7 separate regions of the Homo sapiens genome follow, and all the other regions are linked to region 1. The links are contacts of gene promoters, found by promoter capture Hi-C in blood cells and fetal thymus (Javierre and others, 2016). All regions are on one chromosome and are shown on one strand. Each heading gives the region's core, a stretch centred on a gene start or on the middle of the fragment in contact. The rest is flanking DNA. Distances are from core to core; before and after follow the strand shown.

Evidence for each region. The method cuts DNA at HindIII sites, captures the fragments that hold promoters and counts their contacts. A CHiCAGO score of 5 or more calls a contact.
Region 2: a contact is called between a fragment that was not itself captured here and the fragment with the promoter of CFAP276 in region 1, in 1 of 17 cell types (naive CD4 T cells). The highest score is 5.0, in naive CD4 T cells.
Region 3: a contact is called between a fragment that was not itself captured here and the fragment with the promoter of CFAP276 in region 1, in 1 of 17 cell types (M2 macrophages). The highest score is 5.5, in M2 macrophages.
Region 4: a fragment that was not itself captured here is called in contact with the fragment with the promoter of CFAP276 in region 1 in 1 of 17 cell types (endothelial precursors); the score reaches 6.4 in endothelial precursors.
Region 5: the fragment with the promoter of AMIGO1 here is called in contact with the fragment with the promoter of CFAP276 in region 1 in 1 of 17 cell types (M2 macrophages); the score reaches 5.3 in M2 macrophages.
Region 6: a contact is called between a fragment that was not itself captured here and the fragment with the promoter of CFAP276 in region 1, in 3 of 17 cell types (naive CD4 T cells, erythroblasts and non-activated CD4 T cells). The highest score is 6.3, in naive CD4 T cells.
Region 7: the fragment with the promoter of PRPF38B here is called in contact with the fragment with the promoter of CFAP276 in region 1 in 3 of 17 cell types (naive CD4 T cells, total CD8 T cells and naive CD8 T cells); the score reaches 6.5 in naive CD4 T cells.

The regions. Positions count from the first base shown.
Region 1 is chr1:109,111,474-109,114,173 of GRCh38, reverse strand. CFAP276 (cilia and flagella associated protein 276) reads left to right here and starts at 1,427. Exons shown (of 5, transcript NM_001245025.3): 1 at 1,427-1,575. The coding sequence starts at 1,495. It overlaps ELAPOR1 (endosome-lysosome associated apoptosis and autophagy regulator 1), which reads right to left and starts at 59. Exons shown (of 22, transcript NM_020775.5): 1 at 1-59. RefSeq lists a silencer at 238-307. The HindIII fragment of the contact is 3,574 bases long and covers 1-2,364 here.
Region 2 is chr1:108,644,831-108,647,546 of GRCh38, reverse strand. No RefSeq gene overlaps it. Among named protein-coding and RNA genes, the nearest start is that of HENMT1, 15 kb to the left of the region's middle. The HindIII fragment of the contact is 1,576 bases long and covers 512-2,087 here.
Region 3 is chr1:109,488,912-109,491,611 of GRCh38, reverse strand. It overlaps ATXN7L2 (ataxin 7 like 2), which reads right to left. Exons shown (of 11, transcript NM_001350175.2): 7 at 2,512-2,700; 8 at 1,484-1,682; 9 at 1,220-1,341; 10 at 1-690. Among named protein-coding and RNA genes, the nearest start is that of CYB561D1, 3.8 kb to the left of the region's middle. RefSeq lists a silencer at 706-755. The HindIII fragment of the contact is 4,525 bases long and covers 1-2,700 here.
Region 4 is chr1:109,472,764-109,475,501 of GRCh38, reverse strand. All of the region lies in intron 2 of SYPL2 (synaptophysin like 2), which reads right to left. Among named protein-coding and RNA genes, the nearest start is that of SYPL2, 7.6 kb to the right of the region's middle. The HindIII fragment of the contact is 4,024 bases long and covers 1-2,738 here.
Region 5 is chr1:109,508,333-109,511,032 of GRCh38, reverse strand. AMIGO1 (adhesion molecule with Ig like domain 1) reads left to right here and starts at 1,306. Exons shown (of 2, transcript NM_020703.4): 1 at 1,306-1,613; 2 at 2,034-2,700. The coding sequence starts at 2,121. LOC105378893 (a long non-coding RNA gene) reads left to right here. Exons shown (of 3, transcript XR_001738179.2): 3 at 392-431. RefSeq lists silencers at 1,303-1,422, 1,483-1,632, 1,643-1,702. The HindIII fragment of the contact is 14,739 bases long and covers 1-2,700 here.
Region 6 is chr1:108,750,997-108,753,696 of GRCh38, reverse strand. It overlaps STXBP3 (syntaxin binding protein 3), which reads right to left. Exons shown (of 19, transcript NM_007269.4): 2 at 1,391-1,440; 3 at 553-634. Among named protein-coding and RNA genes, the nearest start is that of STXBP3, 5.7 kb to the right of the region's middle. The HindIII fragment of the contact is 1,618 bases long and covers 607-2,224 here.
Region 7 is chr1:108,690,818-108,693,647 of GRCh38, reverse strand. PRPF38B (pre-mRNA processing factor 38B) reads right to left here and starts at 1,338. Exons shown (of 6, transcript NM_018061.4): 1 at 781-1,338. The coding sequence starts at 1,056. RefSeq lists enhancers at 1-436, 1,087-1,416, 999-1,559, 1,497-1,686. The HindIII fragment of the contact is 12,264 bases long and covers 1-2,830 here.

The DNA.
Region 1 (2,700 bases), core at 178-2,677:
TGAGTGAGCGGCAGTAGCGGCTCAGGTGCTGCGGCTGCTGCTTCTGCTGGCAGAAGGCGGAAAAAAAGGGGAGGGAGGTACACAGGCGGAGGATGCAAGAGGCCAGGCTCGCTTCAGTCACCTCCCTGCGGCTACGCCAACACCGCCCATCCTTCCTCCTCCCTCTGTCCTCTCCTCCTACCCACGTCGCCTTGACAACCGCCTCCTCTCTGGCTCCGCGCGGGTGGGGCAGGGACCACGCGCGCCTCTGCAGCTCACCTGCGGGTCGCCATGGCAGCCGCCGCCGCTGGTGCGCGCGGCGTGGGCGCGGGAGAGCGCGCGCCCGGGGTGCGCAACCGGCCCAACAGGCAGGCCCGGGGCTCGTGTGAAGAACACAGTGGAAGCATCCTCCAAGCCAGCCAACAAATTTCCGTTTTCTACTGCCCTTTCGGGCCAGGGGTTATTTTATGAGCATCTCCGATGTTGCACACGTGGCGTGTGAACCGAGAGAAAGAAGATGGAGAGATCACCCTCCAGACGTCGTCGCCTGGAAGAGGCCCCAGTACGTGTTCCCTCCTACGAAGGCCACTCCTGGAGATCTTACATCCCGCCAAATCCATCCGTGCTTTTACAACCGGCTAGAAGAGAAGCCCTGACACTGTAGTTGATCCGAGTTTAAGCGAGGAGTTTGCCTTAGCCGCAATTTCCCAAGCGCCGCACGTGGGCCTCTCTCTCTCTCTCTCTCTCTCTCTCTCTCTCTCTCTCTCTCTCTCTCTCTTTCTCTCTCTCTCTCTCTCTCTCTGAGACAGGGTCTCACTCTCTCGCCCACACTGGAGTGCAGTGGCGCGATCTCGGCTAACTGCAACCTCCGCCTTCCGGGTTCAAGAGATTCTCCTGGATTAGCCTCCCGAGTAGCTGGGACTACGGGCGCGTGCCACCAAGCCCAGCTAATTTTTTTCCTACTTTTTGTAGAGACGGGGTTTCGCCATGTTGCCCAGACTGGTCTCGAACTCTTGGGCTTAAGCGATCCGCCCGCCTCCGCTTCCCAAAGTGCTGAGATTACAGGCGTGAACCACCGCGCCCGGCCCTCTTTGGTCTCTTGACATCCTCATTCTCTCATGGCTTTGAAAGCCTTTTGTTAGGTGCGAGGGAGAAGGAAATTTCTGGGTCATCTTTCAGGACTTCTTTCCTCAACTGAAGTCTTTTGCAGAAGTCCTGATGGTGAGCAGCCAGCACTTTTCCGCCGAGGCTCAGGAGTGCAATTCCAAGTCTCGGGCCCGCTCAGCGGAACGTTCCCTCTGCAGTCCCCGGAGCTTCCTCCCCAGGGGCCTCCCGTGGTCAGCCGCCAGGTGGCGCCCTCCTCTGAGGGAATTCCTCTGTCATAGATGGCTGGGCAGTTGCCTGGCAACCGAAACCAGCGCTCCAAACAATTGGGACCCGGGATCTTATGCCAGTGAGGCTGTGCTGCGGCTGAGCGGGCCTCCCATCCCTCTTAAAAGAGTTAGGCATTTAGCCATGCCTCCCACCCGGGACCCTTTCCAGCAGCCTACATTAGATAACGATGATTCCTACTTAGGAGAACTGCGGGCTTCCAAGGTACTGTGGTTTCTTGCGCAGATTCCCAGTAGGGTCGCCGGTAGTCTTCTTTCTGTCTGTGTGATGAGCAGAGATGGTAACATAAAGGACTCTGGTGAAGACACTCAGTCGGGTACCAGGGAAGTCTGTTTTCTGCCTGCCTCCCTATCTCCATATTCAAGTCGGCTAACGTTTCAGAGGCGTTTTTGAGCAGAGGAAAGTAGAGTTCTAGTCTAGAGGAACAAGGGGCTCTGGCAGCTCAAATCAATTGTGAGTATAAGTTATGGCAGTGCCCAGGTTCCTTCAAGCTACCCATTTCCCTATTTGGAAGACTGTTCTCTGAAGAGAAATGAGATATGGAGTGGGAGAGAATCCTCTGAAAGCCACCAGAGGTCATGCTTTACACATCTGTGTTCACACTGTCTCTGTCTTCTGGTTAACACCACAATATGTTTGTTATGTGTGTGTTTAGCATGATGGTGGACACTGATTTCGGAACTTAGATGATCTTTTTTCTGGTAGAAGTGATTGGGATATATGAAGTGGTGCACAATAAGATGAATTAAGTGGTGATTGTGGTCTAATAACAATATTGAGAGCCCCTTTTTATTTATTCAATACTTATTTACTATAAGCCAGACACTCTGCTAAACGCCAAGGATATATAAATAAATTAGATGTAGCTTCTGCTGTCAAGGAACTCTAGTAGTAAAGAGAGACCGACAATAGCAAAAATGCTTGCACAATAGCACATGTTGTGACAGAGTTGTGTGCAGGGTGCCGTGAGAACCAGGAACTTAAAGGAAAGCTTCACAGAGCAGATGCATTTTGATGTCCAAATATGAGTTAGGTAGGCCAGGTGAGGGAGTGGATAGAATGTGAGTTAGGAAGAAGGAAACAGGAACCAGATATGCAAGGCAAAGGAAGCAGCAGGTGCAAATACATGGAAAGGAGAGAGAGAATGGCTTATTTGGGGAACTGCAAATAGTCTAGAAGGGCTGGAGTGTAGGCGTGCAATGGAAGCACTCAGAAATCAGAGCTGGAGAGATGCCCTTGGTTGGCTGGGTGTGCTGTGTACACCATGCTAGCTAGCTATGGTTTCATCCTAGGGATGTGAGGAATCATTGTGGGATATTTTTTTTTTTT
Region 2 (2,716 bases), core at 50-2,549, 470 kb after region 1:
CACCTCACCTCCTCCCCACCAGTAGCTTGAACTACTGGCATGTACCACCATGCCCAGCTAATTAAAAATTTGTAGAGATAGGGTCTCACTATGTTGCCCAGACTGGTCTTGAACTTCTGGGCTCAAGTGGTCCTCCTGCCTCAGCTTCCCAAAGTGCTGGGATTGTTTTTTGAGCACCCTCTTCTGAGGATGGAATTGGGGTGGTAGTACTTCTCTGGTTGGAATTGGGGTGGTAGTACTAATGGGAGAAAGAAACATAGCTTCACCTCATGGGGGAAAACAGTAGTTTAAATGAGAGGCATTTCTTAGGCACAGGAGTCCAGAGGTAAGCCCCAGGCATGGGAGCTCTGCCACTTTTGGGACCCAGACGTCCATCTTGCATGTTGTGGCTACTTAGTATGCCATCCAGGGACAGAGAGAGAGATTTGAGCTCTGGCTACTACTTTCATATTCTGAAACAGCAGAAAGAAGAGAAGGGACAAAGGGCACACACAAGCTGTCTGGTAAAGCTTGCTGTGGGTTGTTACGCAACACGACTGCTTACTTCCTGTTGATCAGAATGTGGTCTTCAGGCCACACAAAGGGAAGCTGATATATTAGTCTGTTCTTGCATTGCTGTAAAGAAATAGCAGAGACTGGGTAATAAAGAGGTTTATTGGCTCATGGTTCCACAGAGTGTACAGGAAGCATAGCAGCTTCTGCTTCTGGGGAGGCCTCAGGAAACTTCCAGTAATGGCAGAAGGCAAAGGGTTGGGGCGGGGCGAGGCATCTCACATGGTGGGAACAGGAGCAAGGCGGAGCGAGGGGTGGTGCTGAACACGTTTAAGCAGGTCTTGGGCGGACTCTGTCACGAGAACAGCACTAAGGGGATGGTGCGAAACCATTCACAAAGGACCCACCCCCATGATCACTTCCCAGCAGGCCCCTCCTTCAATATCAGGGATTACAGTTTGACATGAGATTTGAATGGGGACACAGATCCAAACCGTATCAGCTGCGAAATACAGTTTTTATTCTGGGAGGTCATGTGTCCACTTGGTCTGCCAAGGAACAAGGGGAGAAGGAACACTGGCAAATAACCATCTGTGCCACAGCTAGGACATCCTGAGCGGTCTGGAATGGGGGCTATGGAGATGCAGAGTTGGTGCCTGGGAGAGGGCTGGGGGGAGTAATTCTCAAGCTGAGTTTCCAAGGGTTAATAATTAAGCAGATGGGAAGGGGATTTGGTGAGGGGGGAGAGAATTGAGGGATTCTGATGAGAACCGTCTTTTAATCACATTACATTGGTAAACCAGCTGTTTTTTCCTTGAATTTCTAATACTGCTATCAGACTTCCCCCATGAATGCTCAAAGGTGCACATGAACAAGAGATTTGTAGCCCCACCCTATTCCTGCTCTCAAAGGCCCTCTGTCCGTCCTCACCTTTCTAGGCCTCTGCAGTTTTCACTCTAGAGTTCCCTTCTCATCATTGCTCTTCTGTGGTAGAGCCAAGGTTTCTAGCCAAGACCAGCCGTTTCTCTGATCTTTCTTGAAAGTTAATCAGTTAACTTTGTTCGAGCCTAATCACTGGAGCCCCCATGTGGAAACATTTTAAGTGCTCATGACTGCCATGGGGGCTGGAGCTGCTCTTCCCCATGGCCTTCCCGCTCTCTCTGCGGCTTCTGTACCTACGTTCTTCTTGAGAAGTTTGTCTTTCCCCCAACCTGGATACAGGCCTTTCTTTGCACACTGAAAGGCTCATTAATACTTGAGGTCAGGGGTTGCCAGACGTGCTTTTGGGGCTAGACAGTAAATCTTTGCAGGTGATCCAGTCTCTATCACAACTATTCAACTCTGCTTGAGTCAAAGCCACCACAGACAATGTGAAAACAAGTGCGCTGAGCAGGAGACAGAGTTTAATCTGCAGTCTTCTTTGAGAGAAGGTTCTCACTGCCACTGCCCACCTCCCAGACTAGATACGAAATCTGCACTACCAGGTATTGAAACCTCCCTGGCCCTTGAGATCTGAATATAATTTGCCTCCAACTCCTATTTCCATAGTCTGGGTAACTCCAAAACTCTGAGACTTCTATGATTTCCTAAAAGCTTACGTTATCACAGCACTGCCTGCCTTCAAGTTCAGTTCCATACAACTGAGATGTGAATCTCAGCCCCTTCTATGCTGCTCCGAGGCTCCTCAAACACATCCCACCTTACCCTCCTTCTCATCTGGCAGCAGCTCCCAGCTCACCTTCCCCAGCTGCCCTCGCTTGCCCCACCCCCTCCCCTCCTTTCCTGTGACTGCCAACCTGCTGCCCCACGGCACGCCCAGCAGTTCAGCTCCCTTCAAGTGTTCTCAGCCCTCAGTTCTGCCAGCGGTTATCAAGGGAGAACTCCAAATAAAGGCAATTTCTTCAACTAGAGTTTGGGTGCCAAGAACATTAAATCTTTATCTCGTTATGCCTGGTCCTGTGGAGACTGTGTGTCGAGCAGTTGACAGGAAGTCAGGGACTGAGCAGTGTCAGCAGTGGCAATGTGGTCTTTTGAAGACTGAGAACTGTGGGTTTCTGCCTTCATGAAGGATGCTAGGTGCTAACTACAGCAAACATGGCTTATCATTATATTTGTGAACCTCGAACATTTGAGACAGGTCTCAGCTAATTTAGAAAGTTTATTTTGCCAAGGTTGAGGACACGCTCCCATGACACAGTCTCAGGAGGTCCTGACAACATGTACT
Region 3 (2,700 bases), core at 133-2,632, 380 kb before region 1:
TTCACTGGCCGGCAATAAGTGGCCAGGTTTTTCCGCTTCTTGGCCACCTCCTCCTCAGAGAGGCAGTTGGTTGGCAGGGCCTTGGCTGGGTGTCCAGCTGCTCCCCGGTTCTCCAGCTGAGAAGCCTTGACTGGTGTGGGGAGCTGATGAGGGGAGCCACGACAGTCCAGGGGCCCTGCCCGCTTCACTCTTGGCCCCATTGTCCCATTAAGCCCCATGCTCAGGGCTGTTTTAGTTTTGGCCGAGAGGCCCCTACAGCCAGAGGGTTTCCCTTTTCCAGTGGGCTCCAGGATGCAGGTCCGTTTAAGAGTGGTAGGGCCAGGGGATAACTTCCGCTTTCGAGAAGGGGCCTCCACCTCCACCCCGTCCTTGCCTTTGGATGACTTGCTGGCCTTGGAAGGCGGCAGCTTGCTGAAGGACGGGGATGGCGTGTTGGCAGGCAGTGGTGAGGTGATAGCCTGGCTCCCGCCCATGCACTCTGCCTGGCTACAGGCAGCCGCCACGCTGGGGGAGCCTGCAGGGTAGCTGGGGACAAGGTTGTCCTTGGTGGGGGGCATGGAGGCTGGGCAGGCAGGTCTCAGGGTTGGACCTGGAAGGCGGGGGCAGGTGCCTGTAGAGGATGGGCTCAGGGGAGCAGATAACGGGGAGTTGACAAGGTGAGCTGGAGGTTCAGCTGCCGGTGGGATCTTCCTGCAGCAAAAAGAAAGCCCCACTGTGACTGCCAAGAAACAAGACAGCTTCCCCCAACACAAGACACACTCCAGTCTCTCTGCCCCACCTAGAAATGGTCAGCAGAGCCCCAGAGTTGCTGCCATCTGCTGGGAGATGCTGGAACTGAGGGTTAGGAAGAAGACACAGGGGTGCCTGTGGAGAGGAATTAGCTAGTACCTACTAACTAGGAGGCAGCCCACTAGGAACTTCATTTTAAATCTTGGTTTGGGCATCCCCTATCCCTAGTTACCCAAAAGGTACTGGAAGTGATGGATGAAAGTCTAGATTCACCCCCAGACCACCCTTCCATGCCCTGCCTTAGCCAAACTCTAGGCTGCCAAGTTTTCCCACCTCCTTTTCATGCTACTCCCTATCTGGGGTCCTGCTGGCAAATAGCCAAGGCACACCTATGGGTATACAGGAAAGATCAGGGCTTCTGAAGCCCAAGTATGTCTGGAACCTAGGAATTTCCATTCTAGAACTTCCATTCTGGGTCCGAGAGACTTACTTCCACATGTGTGTGCTGAGGTGCCGTTCCAGCATGGAGCTGAGTGCTGAGCAGAACCGGTCCAGCCGGCGGCTAAACACATAGCATCCTGGGCTCACCAGCCGGCTCCCAAAGGTGCAGAACTAAAGGCAGAAGGAAGGTGCATGGTTGGCAGGGTCTGGGGTGCACAGACAGCATCTGCACACAGGATCTGGCCTCCTCCCCATGTTGTTGGCCAGGAGTGCTGGGCCACCCCCTCCATAGGCCCCTATTCCAGGTCCTTACCGCCTGTGGCCGTGGGGGCCGGGTTGCATAATGGCAGTCAGGGGGTGGGTGGAGGTCGTCAGATGTCCCCTCCTCCTCACTCTCTTCGCTGGAGGCCTGGGTCCCACCCCGGGGCATGGGGAAGGGGAACAGGCCTGGGTCCCCATCACCACCACAGGGGCCTTCATCATCCAATTCACTCTCGGAGGAGGCCCGGGACCTGGAAGGGCCAAAAGGGATGCCAGGGGAATGTGACTGTTGTGGGGTCAGAGTAGGGGCATCCTTGAACCTGCCGAGCTCAAAGAGCAGGGCACCAGGGCAGACACCCTGCAGGGCAATCAGAAGAGGACAGAGGGAAGGGAAGGACAGGAGGGAACGACACAGCTCACAGAGTAAGAGACAGAGAGACTGCTCCCAAGGGATTCTCTCCCCAGCCCCTTCACCTCCCAGCCCCTTCCTCCTCAGGGGATAATCTGCTGCAGATCCGCCTCCTCCAGAAAATCTTCACAGTTAAAACTGTACCCAGCTCTGGTCAGCCCAGTCAACTCGCTCAACCCCCTTCTTGCATCACATATTCCTGTGAGCCTGTCTGTGAGCTGAGCCTGTGTTTCGTGTCTGCCCCTTGTGTGACAGGCAGAGATGCATGTGTGTCTCCTTCAGCAAGTCAGGCTCTCCCTGGGGTCCGGCATAGCCTCTGCACGCGAAGGGGCCAGTGAGTGAATACACATAGGGCTGCCTTGCCCAGGAGTGTGACCCTTTCAGCTCCCCAGTGACAAGTTTCGGTCTGTTGGAGGCAGCTGGGAAAATGTTCATATCCTGAGTGTTGGATCTGGCACACTGCCGAGAGGCTGGGGTGCTGTGGTATGCCTGGTTGGAAACAGGGGAGTCTCCTGCTTCCACACCACTGTCAGGAGCCCCAGGAATACCCCCACACTCAGGGCTGAGGGAGTGCCTCTTCCAGGACACTCCCTGAGCCTGTTTCCAGGGGCCCCTGATGGCTTAGGGGCCAAGTACCCCCAGGTGAGGTAGGGGTTGGATTCTAGACGTACCTGGGCAGTGCACAGTATGGGTAGGTCTGCTTGGCACGAACAGAGAAGGTGCTGCTGGGAGCAGCCACCGCTGCTACAACCTGGACTGAGGAGGGGAGCTCCTGGGAGGGGCGCTCGAGAACTTGCTCCTTGCGCCCTGGGCTCTTCTCCTTGGGAGACTCCCCTTTGCGGGAGTTGGCCTTCAGCTCT
Region 4 (2,738 bases), core at 188-2,687, 360 kb before region 1:
GTGCAGACATTAAGTGCGGGAGTGGGGGAGAGTGAGGATCCCCTTTAATCAAGTTCTTCCTAGGTAGAAACCCATGGCTTCCATTTATCTTCCAGCCTCAGGCTGCTGGACCAAATAGCCAAATGAATACAAGGTTGACTGAGTGGTGTCTGCAAGGGAGATGAAGAGGCAGGAAATGGACAGTTGCCAGATCTCTCCATTGGGCATGACTTGGGGACCACAGGTAGCCTCCTTAAGATGACTAACACAAAACCTCTGCAATTCAGGCTTTAGGAAACTTCTAGCTTACAGATAGACTTGAATTTCCTTCCCAAGGGAGAGACACACTCAAAAAGATTCCCCTGCATCAACCTAGATCAGACATGCCTAGAACGCTTTTCATTTCTCCTTTGAACTAGTCATCTAATCTTGTTTCCTAGTTGCTAACTTCCAGTGGCTTCCTGCCTTGGTGGAGGTATAGCTGGAGGGGCCAGCTTCTACCAAGCCACCCCAGATGGGCCATACTACTGTCCCATAGTACTGACAGCCTAATTCCTCTTCCCCAAAAGGCACATGGCCTTCTAGCAATAGTGCTGGCTGGGCCAATGTGACAATCTTGGCTCAAGCCCAGAGAAAAGTACCCTCCACTTGCCTTATCAGTCTCCACTGTTTCCCCACTGGTATTTCCCTTTGTCATCTGTTGATGCTGCCATTTCTCAGTGTTAAGATCCAGAGGTGTCTCAGGTCACTCGAATTGTTTTCTTCTCCACCTTTCCTCACATTTTACTACACCTTCTCTCTCAAGTGAAATAAAATTTCCTCATCCTATGATTTTCAGATTTCTTTCTGGGAAACACACTTTGGTTAGAAAAGGAGGTGAGAGGCCAGGTGCGGTGGCTCACACCTGTAATCCCAGCACTTTGGGAGGCTGAGGCGGGTGGATCATTTGAGGTCAGGAGTTTGAGACCAACCTGGCCAACATGGTGAAACCCCATATCTACTAAAAATACAAAAATCAGCCTGGCGGTAGAGTGTCGCATGCCTGTAATCTCAGCTACTTGGGAGGCTGAGGCAGGAGAATCACTTGAACCCGGGAGGCGGAGGTTGCAGTGAGCCGAGATCGTGCCACTGCACTCCAGCCTGGCAACAGAATGAGACCTTGTCCCTCTCCCGCCCACCGCCAAAAAAAAAAAAAAAAAGAAAAGAAAAGAAAAGAAAAAAGAAAAGGAGGTGAGAAATTGAAATGTCTTATCCTCCACATCATCTGCTCAGATTGGATTTCCTGTGCACTTACCTTTGACTTGTACACAATGTCATGTTCTTATTAAGCAATGAGCTTATTCTCTTAATTGTTCACTCTCTGTATCTTTCTTCGAGACTCAGTGTCTTGGACATTAAGCACTTGGAAGACAGCTGATCTGTATGTCAGCCCTGCATCCAGAGTCTAGAATAGAAGCTATATGCACTTTATTTTGCCAATGCTTGTTAGCATTATGGAGTGAAAGGAGACCTGAACTAGGAGTATGGAAACCTAGGTTCCAGACCTGGTCCTGTCACTAATTAGCCAGGTGAGCTCTGATAAGTCACTCTGCTCTCTGAGTCTGTTTCCTCATCTTTTTTTTTTTTTTTAGATGGAGTCTTGCTCTGTCGCCCAGGCTGGAGTGTAGTGGCGCAATCTTGGCTCACTGCAAGCTGCACCTCCTGCGTTCACACCATTCTCCTGCCTCAGCCTGTTGAGTAGCTGGGACTATAGGCGCCCACCACCATGCCCAGCTAATTTTTTGTATTTTTTTTAGTAGAGACGGGTTTTCACCGTGTTAGCCAGGATGGTCTCGGTCTCCTGACCTTGTGATCCGCCCGCCTCAACCTCCCAAAGTGCTGGGATTATAGGCATGAGCCCAGCCTGTTTCCTCATCTTAAATGGAGGGGTTTGGAGTAGATAATCTAGAGGCCCTTTCCAGCCCTGGAACTCTCTCACTCTCTGAGAGTAACACTGTCAGTGTACTCTTGACTGGGCTTGCCAACAGCTGTGCTTTGCCCCTGCGAGGTGTCCAGTGCCACTGCCCCCGGCTTGCAGCGCCTGGCCTTGCAGATCTCCATGCTGGAGCCATTGGCCTCTCTCCAAATAATGGGCACCTCTCTGTTTTCAGGAGGTTTATTCCAGACAAATGAGAATTGTCTCCATGTTTAAAGATATCTGGGAAAGAAGACAGTAAAACCTCCCTCCAATGCCTAAATACCCTCCTCTCCTGAATTAAATGATGAAGACTGCAGTAGAGCCCTGTCTGCCCGCCTTCTTCACAGAGGTAGAGAAGAGTCACTCGAAGCCTCTGCATCATTACCCTTTACTTACTCAAAGTGGCCTCACCATTGTAATAGTGGAACTTCTCTAACTCTTCCTCATAGGAATTCGCTAATCTTTTGTCAGTTCTGTGGCCATCTGATTCCTCTTAGAAGTTTCTTTATTCCTCTTAGCTTCTGGTGCCCAGAACTGGATGTGATTAGGGTGTCACATTCTGGGAAGGGCAGCACAGTTGGAAATATTTTTACCCGTTGGCAGTTAGTCAGTGAATGGCTCCTTATAGGTTCCTTAAGAAAGCAGGGGCCGGGCATGGTGGCTCACAGCTGTAATCCCAGCAGTTTGGGAGGCCAAGCAGGAGAATGGCTTGAGCCCAGGAATTTGAGACTAGCAACATATAGGCAACATAGCAAGACCCTCCCCTACAGAAACTACAAACAAAAAATTAGCTGGGCATGGT
Region 5 (2,700 bases), core at 57-2,556, 400 kb before region 1:
GCAATCCTCCTGCCGCAGCCTCCCAAAGTGCTGGGATTACAGGTGTGAGCCACTGCACCTTGCAGAAAGACCTTTTCACACTATGCATAAGATTAACACGCTAATACTCCTTGAAGAGATAATATATTCACTAAAATTCATGGTAAAACATGTGACAGATATAAATTCTTTTTAAAACTCTTAGCAAGCTAATCTACTGAGACATTAATTTCAGTCTTGATCTTGCTGTTATAAGAGACTGGAACAAATAAAAAGGTAATTTCTTATGGTCCACCATCTCAAGAACAGCTAACATCTTGAATGATAAGGTCTAGGCTCTTCCTGCATCTCTCTCTTTCCTCACCCCCAAACCCAAACAACATACACTAGTAACAGCTTCTTGTTGTTTCAGGGGCCACCCTAAAGAAGAAACCCCTCCACCTCCACCACTGGCCTTCATCTTGAGGATTAGGTAACAGAGAAACTATGTTGCAATTGCTCCATAAGGGGAGTGGGGAGCTGGCACTGGTTTAGGAAGAAGGCAAGTGGCCAGACCTAAGGGCTGAATGACTTCCTCCGGGCTGGGAAGGGTTTCGGAGTTTCCAGGAATGGAAATTGTCCCTGGCTTGTATGCAGTCCGTGTGTGTGTGTGTGTGTGTGTGTGTGTGTGTGTGTGTGTGTGTAGCAGGTGGAGTGGGGAGAGGTGCATGAGGTGTCTGTAAAGGGGTGTTCTGGGGCCTGGGCTCACCAAACACCCCCTTTCCCCTCACTCCTGCGCAGCTGGCTTGCAGGCTAAGGAGCTGTGCCCTTCAGTGGTACCTCAAGGGTCATGAACTAGTAGCATCAAGACGGGGGTGGGGTGGGGGGAACCCCTCCCCCAATTTTTGAGACCCCACAGCCACAGAGAGAAGGGAGGGGGAACCTCAGAATGTGACTAATGAATTTCCCGCCAACATTGGCAGGCGGGAGCTGAGCCAGATTTCTTCAATTTGCGAAATTAAAAGACATGTGACGCCTCTTGCCCGAGTAGGTGCAGCGAATTCACTTTAGTTAGACTTTTCCTGAGAGCCGGTCTGTGTAGCGAGAAGGGTGCTGGGAGATGGGGGAATGGGGGATGGAGGAAGTTATAGCGGAGCCTAAGGGGCCAGTGCCGCTCTTCCTGCCAATTTTCGTCTTTAGCTCAGCGTCCGGAGCTCGCTGGTTGAGGGAACGACCCCGCGCGCGTCCGCCCGGCCGGCTCCGACACAAACACACGCACGTGCGCCCCGCCCCCGCCGCGCGCACGCGCCCCGAGGCTCCGGCGGCGGCGACGGGCGCGCGCGCGGTGCTCGCTGCCCCCACGCCGCTCCCTCCGCTGGGATCGCTGCGCCTCCGGCTCCCCGCACCGATCCGCGCCAGGCCTGCGGACCTGGAGGCAGCGACCGCGGTCGGTGGGCTCCGGCGGGCTCAGCGGTCGAGGCGGTGGCAGGGTGAGCGGAGCGGGGCCCCGCAAGTCCCCGGGAGGCGACGGTGCCGGGCGCGGGCCCCTGCGTAAGGTGGGCGCAGTGACAGGCCGGCCGGTGAGGCGCCGCCGGGAGAGGCCGCGACGGAGCTCCCAGACCGGCCATGGGCTGAGACACGTCCTCGCCGAGCAGGTGCAGTGACCGGAGGCCCCGGGGGGAGCCCGCCCCTACAGGCCCCGGGGACCCTCAACCCCGACCGGACGCGTCCTACCCAGCCCGGTGCCCTGTTGACCTTCCCTCAGCTCCTCCCAAAAGGCACACCGACCCCACCTCCAAACCCTGCCCGTGCCATCCCTGTGACTCCCAGCAGTCCCTGCCATCCTGTGCATACCTGCAGCCTGCACCCCTGTGACCCCAGCCCAGTAGGCCCTCGGGCCACCTCCTCTTCGGCCGATATTTACAGCCCACTGCCTGCACAGTGCCTGGAAACTACCCAGCATCTCTCTCTCCTAGCCCAAAGGGGGTGGAGGTAAGGGTGGGAGGGGAAGTGGGAGAGGGTGTCCTTCCCTCTGGAGTCCTTGGTGACCACAAACCCATCCTCTTTCTCTCAAGTGACCCTTCCGTACCCCACCAGAACATGCCCGGGTGACCTCCTCCCAGATCTTCCTTGTGGCCTTCCTCGCCCACTCCAGTGACACTATGCACCCCCACCGTGACCCGAGAGGCCTCTGGCTCCTGCTGCCGTCCTTGTCCCTGCTGCTTTTTGAGGTGGCCAGAGCTGGCCGAGCCGTGGTTAGCTGTCCTGCCGCCTGCTTGTGCGCCAGCAACATCCTCAGCTGCTCCAAGCAGCAGCTGCCCAATGTGCCCCATTCCTTGCCCAGTTACACAGCACTACTGGACCTCAGTCACAACAACCTGAGCCGCCTGCGGGCCGAGTGGACCCCCACGCGCCTGACCCAACTGCACTCCCTGCTGCTGAGCCACAACCACCTGAACTTCATCTCCTCTGAGGCCTTTTCCCCGGTACCCAACCTGCGCTACCTGGACCTCTCCTCCAACCAGCTGCGTACACTGGATGAGTTCCTGTTCAGTGACCTGCAAGTACTGGAGGTGCTGCTGCTCTACAATAACCACATCATGGCGGTGGACCGGTGCGCCTTCGATGACATGGCCCAGCTGCAGAAACTCTACTTGAGCCAGAACCAGATCTCTCGCTTCCCTCTGGAACTGGTCAAGGAAGGAGCCAAGCTACCCAAACTAACGCTCCTGGATCTCTCTT
Region 6 (2,700 bases), core at 166-2,665, 360 kb after region 1:
CCGCCTAGAGGAAGATAACTTCTTATGACATTATGATTTTTTTTCAGAATCTGTAAGTATTTCAAATTTTCATACTAAAACTGATTTAAACTTATAATTATTTGTCTCATTTCTGGTAATAAAGATAAATTTACGAAGTCAGCATTATGCATTTGTAAACATGTACAACAGCTGATTTTATGACATAAATCTTGATATCCATTTTAAAGCGATATATGAAACCATAAACTAAATCAAAATACTGAAGTAAAGCTTGTGTATCAATATACAAAATTGTTTTATATATATATATGTATATATGAGTAAAACATTTAAAGAACAACCTCAACAAAGCAATTAAGTTAGGCTTGGTTAGAGGTCTTAATTATATGTCTCGGCTGAGGGAAAAAAACTGACAGAAGATTCAGAGAAAAGAATGTTAAATCTAATAGTTATGGCTACAGTAATTTAAAAAAATAAGCTCCTTAGAAACACAACTACTAACTAAAATTTAATACCTCAGATCTCCCCCAATTACAATTAAAAAGTGTTCATGCCAAGAATAACACTTACCAGTAATACCTTCTTCTAGAAGATCTGTCATTTTGCAACACGATGCCAAAAGCTTAGTGGTAAATTCATCTAAAAGCATTATCTTAAAACAAACACAAATTTAAAAATACTGTAAGCATCCTATTACCAAGAATGAAAAAAAGAATTTTATCCATTAAACTTTATAAGCCTTTTATAACACAAAATATCAGAACAGTAGGCAAAATGATCTCATCTTTTATCTTGCATGAGCTAGAGATTTTCTCAATATACATGCATATAGTATCGTACATAAGTAAACAAACAGAAATATTTCTAATTTGAAACATAGAGCTTATTCATTTTGAATGACACTGTTTAACATCAAATTTTCTTAAAATTACAATTGCCACTTGTAGAACAATTATTGCACAAAGCACTGTTTTAAGTAATTTCCATGGATTAATTCACCTCATATTTACAATTACCATATGAGGTATTACCATCACCATTTTTATAAACAAGGAAATGGGGCAGAGAGAGGTCAAGTAACTTGTGCAAGGAGCCACAGCTATTAAGTGGTGAAGTTAGTATTTGGAGCCAAGCAGTGTGATTCCAGACCCTATATAGTCATCCCTCGGTATCCATGGGGGTTCGAGGACCCCTGTGTATACCAAAAATCCATGGATGCTCAAATCTCTTATATAAAATAGTGTAGTGTTTGCATGTAACCTACACACATCCTCCCACATACGTCAAATTATCTTTAGATTACTTATACTAGAATACCTAATACCATGTAAATACTATGTAGTTTTTATACTGTATTGTTTTTAAAGTTTGTATTATTTTTTATAAGAGCAAGGTATGCAAACTCTACCTTCCATTCGCCTTCTTTCTTGCAGTCATCAAACACTGTTGCTTTTATCTCTGTTTAAAAAAGAAAGGAATTACTTAGGAATTAAATAAACAGAAACATAGTAATCCAAAGGGTCCAAAATGGCTAAGGAAAAATCCAATTTGAAATTTGTTAAACTACATAAAAAGCATACATATTTGTTAAACCTTACGGAAAAATCCAATTCTAATACCTAGCCTATACAGTACATTTAAACTGTAATCAATTTTTTAACTTTAAAAGGTATTATAAAAAGGGTTAATATATTTAAGTACATGAACGTACCGAGAAAATATTTCTAAAATTATTACCTGATTTGGTTTTTCCTATTCTACTTAAATCCCAAGTAAAACAAGATGAAAACAAAAAACCCACGGGAACATCCTTAAGTTGCCCATTGCTAAATTATATCTGATGATCAAATCTGCATAAACATTTTTCATACTGATTTACTACATTATGCTTTTCAACAATACATATCACAGCATTTGGATACCAATATTCAGTCTTGATTTATAATCAATAAATATGTTCCTTACAATGACTTTCAAAATTATCTAAATATGTTTTAAAAATTAGTTCACTGATTTAAAAACATTTTCCATTATGTATTAAATAATTCATGTGGACAATTTATACAAATATCTGTTCTACTTAATAAAACAATTTCCCACACTATGTTTTATTAATGTTCAATTGATTTTAAAATCGGTAGTAATACATAGTAATACATAAAATATAATTAAAATATAAATTATAGTAACCTATTTTTCATTAAATCTTATTAATGAGATGGTTATTTCATTAACTTAAGCTTTTCTATTTCCTAATTTATATTTAAGTTAATGCTTTTGGGAAATTTATCAACAAGTTTTTGGTAACAAGTCATGTTAAAAACTGACGGCTCTTCTATCAGAGGGTATAAATAATAACAGTTACTGTGGTACAATAAAAAATATTTGGTTTTTACCCCCTGTTCCTAGCACAGAGCCCCTAAAGACCTTGGAATCTCCTGAGTGATAGCATCTCTTCCGTCTGCAAATGAAATGACTCTTGGGTGAGGGGCCCCTATACAGCTTTAGATTGAGGGCTGGTCACCAGACCAAGCCATGTTTAGAGGGTTGGAACTTTCAGCCCCACCCCAGGACCTCTGGGAAAGAAGAGGGACTGGAGATTGAGTTCAATCACCAGTGATGTAATCATTCATGCTTATATAATGAAGCCTCCATAAAAACCCCTTAAGAGAGTTTGGAGAGCTCCCAAGGTGGTGAACAAACCATGTGCCAGGAGGG
Region 7 (2,830 bases), core at 89-2,588, 420 kb after region 1:
CATACCTCTACCTGCGACCCTGGGCTGCTCCGAGCCTCGCTGCAAGACTGAGTCAATCCTGCTAACGAAACAAGAACTGAGACAAGAGTGCAGTGAGGAGGCGCCAGGTGAGCTCCCCAGCACAGCCAAGCCAGCACCGACCCTGCCGCAGAAGCCCAGGGCCCAGATAATTCTAAATTAGCCCAATGCACAGGTGGCTGAGACCTCTTACTCCTGACTTCCTGCTGGGAAAATTTCCAGGCCTTCTGTACACCTCTTGAAATGGCACCTCTCCACCCTCATCCCCCCACCCCACCCGACACACACGCACTGACCATTTCCCTGCCTGGATCGGATAGTGAGTACCAACAACACGAGGCCAATACTGAAGTCATTACACGCCCTGGCCAGGGGTGAGCGGGAGAAGCACCAACAAGTTGGCGCTCAGCAGATCCACGTCAAAAGGAATAATTTTAAAGCTGTAAACTGGAAAGGCTTCTGTTACTCTTTCCTCCTCTCCCCCATCCCTCTTGCCCAACTCCCCCCAGGGGTGGGCAGGAGGTTGGGGGAGGAGAGAGATCAATAGTGGCGGGCTCTCCCGGCCCTAAAAATCTAAAATGGAAACGAGAGGGCGGCCCCAGTCCGACCCCTCCCAGACACACTACAGGCCGCAGCCACCCCTCCGCCGAACCACCTTCCCCCACCCACAAATCTTCAGATTTCGGGGGCCGCCTTCGCCCGTTTCCTCCATACCCCCTCTTCCGAACTTACCCCCAAAGCCAAGGCCTACACACTTCGTACCTTAAAGTAGATCTCGTCCACCACCTCGTGGTAGGTCTTGAGCTCGTAGAGCTGTACTTTGAAGTAAGGCGACGACAGGATGTTGGTCAGGATCATGGGGTTGAGGTTCATGGTCTTCTCGTTGCCCCAGAGCGGGAGCACATTGCCCTGCTTGCCGGAGACCGCCGGCTTGGTAGCGCCGCCGCCGCCGCACTGCTGCTGTTGCTGAGCCGCAGCTGCAGCCGCCTGGTGCTGCGGCTGCGAGTTGCCTGTCAGCGCGGGGCTGTTGTTAGCCATGTTGCGGCGGAAGGAAGGAGGGAGGGAAGGAGGGGGGGGAGGGGGCCAAGCTCGATCTCGCTCTTCGGGACAACGGTCTGGGACCCTACTCCATCGAACGTCGTCGGGAGAAGGGGCCGCCTCGCTGTGCCCCAGCTGGGCAAGAGAGGGCACCCGACGCCGACAAAATGACCCCGGGCCAAGAGCAGACAGCGAAACCCAGACCGCGAGAACTCCACGCAGAAGGCGAGCCGGCAGCCAGGGAGCTCGATCTCTTCCGCCAACTGCCCCTGGGAACAAGATGGCGGGCCCGGCGGATATGACGCCACGCACCCCAGCGTTCCAAGCTGAGCTGGCGGCCAATCAGAGACGCTCAGTTGGGCTGGAGCGTCCTCTTCCTAGGTCCCCGCGTTCTCTGCACGCTGAAGTCGCTGCAGTGACCTCCGTACCTGACTCTTAGGGGATTTCTCCTGAGAATTTGGGGGCCGGGGGAGAGGGTTGTAGGCCTAATCCGTTGTTGTTGTATTTTGACTGGGGGCTTGATTTCTTTTGTCGGGAGCTGAGCCAGGAAGGGTTCGCATGGCTGCGGTGTGCTTGCTAATATCGTCACTCTGACTTCTGCAGAGTATCCGAGAGGGGTCTCCTGGGATCTCAGTTTTAAGGTTCTCTGGAAGGTACAATGGTCAGGGACCCCACTCCTCCAGGAGATTCTGATCAAAGGTCACGTACTTCGCCAGCCTCTAGTGTCCAGCCAGAAGTCTTAAATTTATTCATCCGTAAGATTGAGATAACATCTGGCTGGGCTGTTGTGAGCATTGAAAGAGCTAATGTACTTGTAGTGCCTAGTAGACTGTTCCAGGCATCTGGTAGGCGCCTTTTCTTTTTCTCCCTGCTCCAGATCTTTGGATTCTAGGAATGTATCCGGAGTGATAAACATTGGGCGAGATACTGTATATTGGGAGTGGGTGTGTGAATGTGTGGGGAGTTTGAATGTGGCAATCTTGACTTCAGTGGCGCATACACAGGAGGAGAAAAGGATAAGATGGAAACTTTGGGGAAAATCCACATCTGGATGAAAATAAACCAGAAGAGGAGAGAGAGAGAGCGAAGACCAGCAGAAAAGTATTTAAACCAAGAGACAGTTGTTTGACAGAATACAAGGAAATAGAAAAGATAAGTGAATGGAGTGATTGATTAGTGTTTGGAGCTGTACGGTACGAAAGTGGATATCCTGTCTGGTTCCTTTGTTTTAGGTTGCAAGAGAACTAGAACCCTGAGAGGAGAAGCAGTTTTCACCTTCTTACTAGCAAATCTTGTTTTTCTCTATAGTGGTTTTTATTAACTTCCAAAGGAAAACTGAAGATCCTAACCCCTGTGTCATGAGTTATCACGTTAAAAGTCCATAGAAAAAATTTTTTTTAACCCAGTTCTTTTTGTGTATATATTTTTTGCCTTGATAATACTAGTTTATTGAGTTTGCCGAGTGACACATTGCCAAATCTTATGCCCTATTTTTAATTCCTCAGATACATGATCTTTCTGTATAGTCTTAGACAGTCTTTACCCCTAGTCTGTTTGGATGAAGAGCTTGGTAGAGAGGTTGAGTTTGATATCTAAGTGTCAGCGGCATCAAACTCGGAGCCAGGTATTATGATAAAGTGCTTTAACATATTCAGTGAATCCCTACAACAGGCTGAAGATGTTATTTTTATCCCCATTTTTTAGAAAACTTTATTCAGTTATAATTGAAGACCTCTACGCTGCACATATATAAAGCCGTAAGTTTGGTTTGATC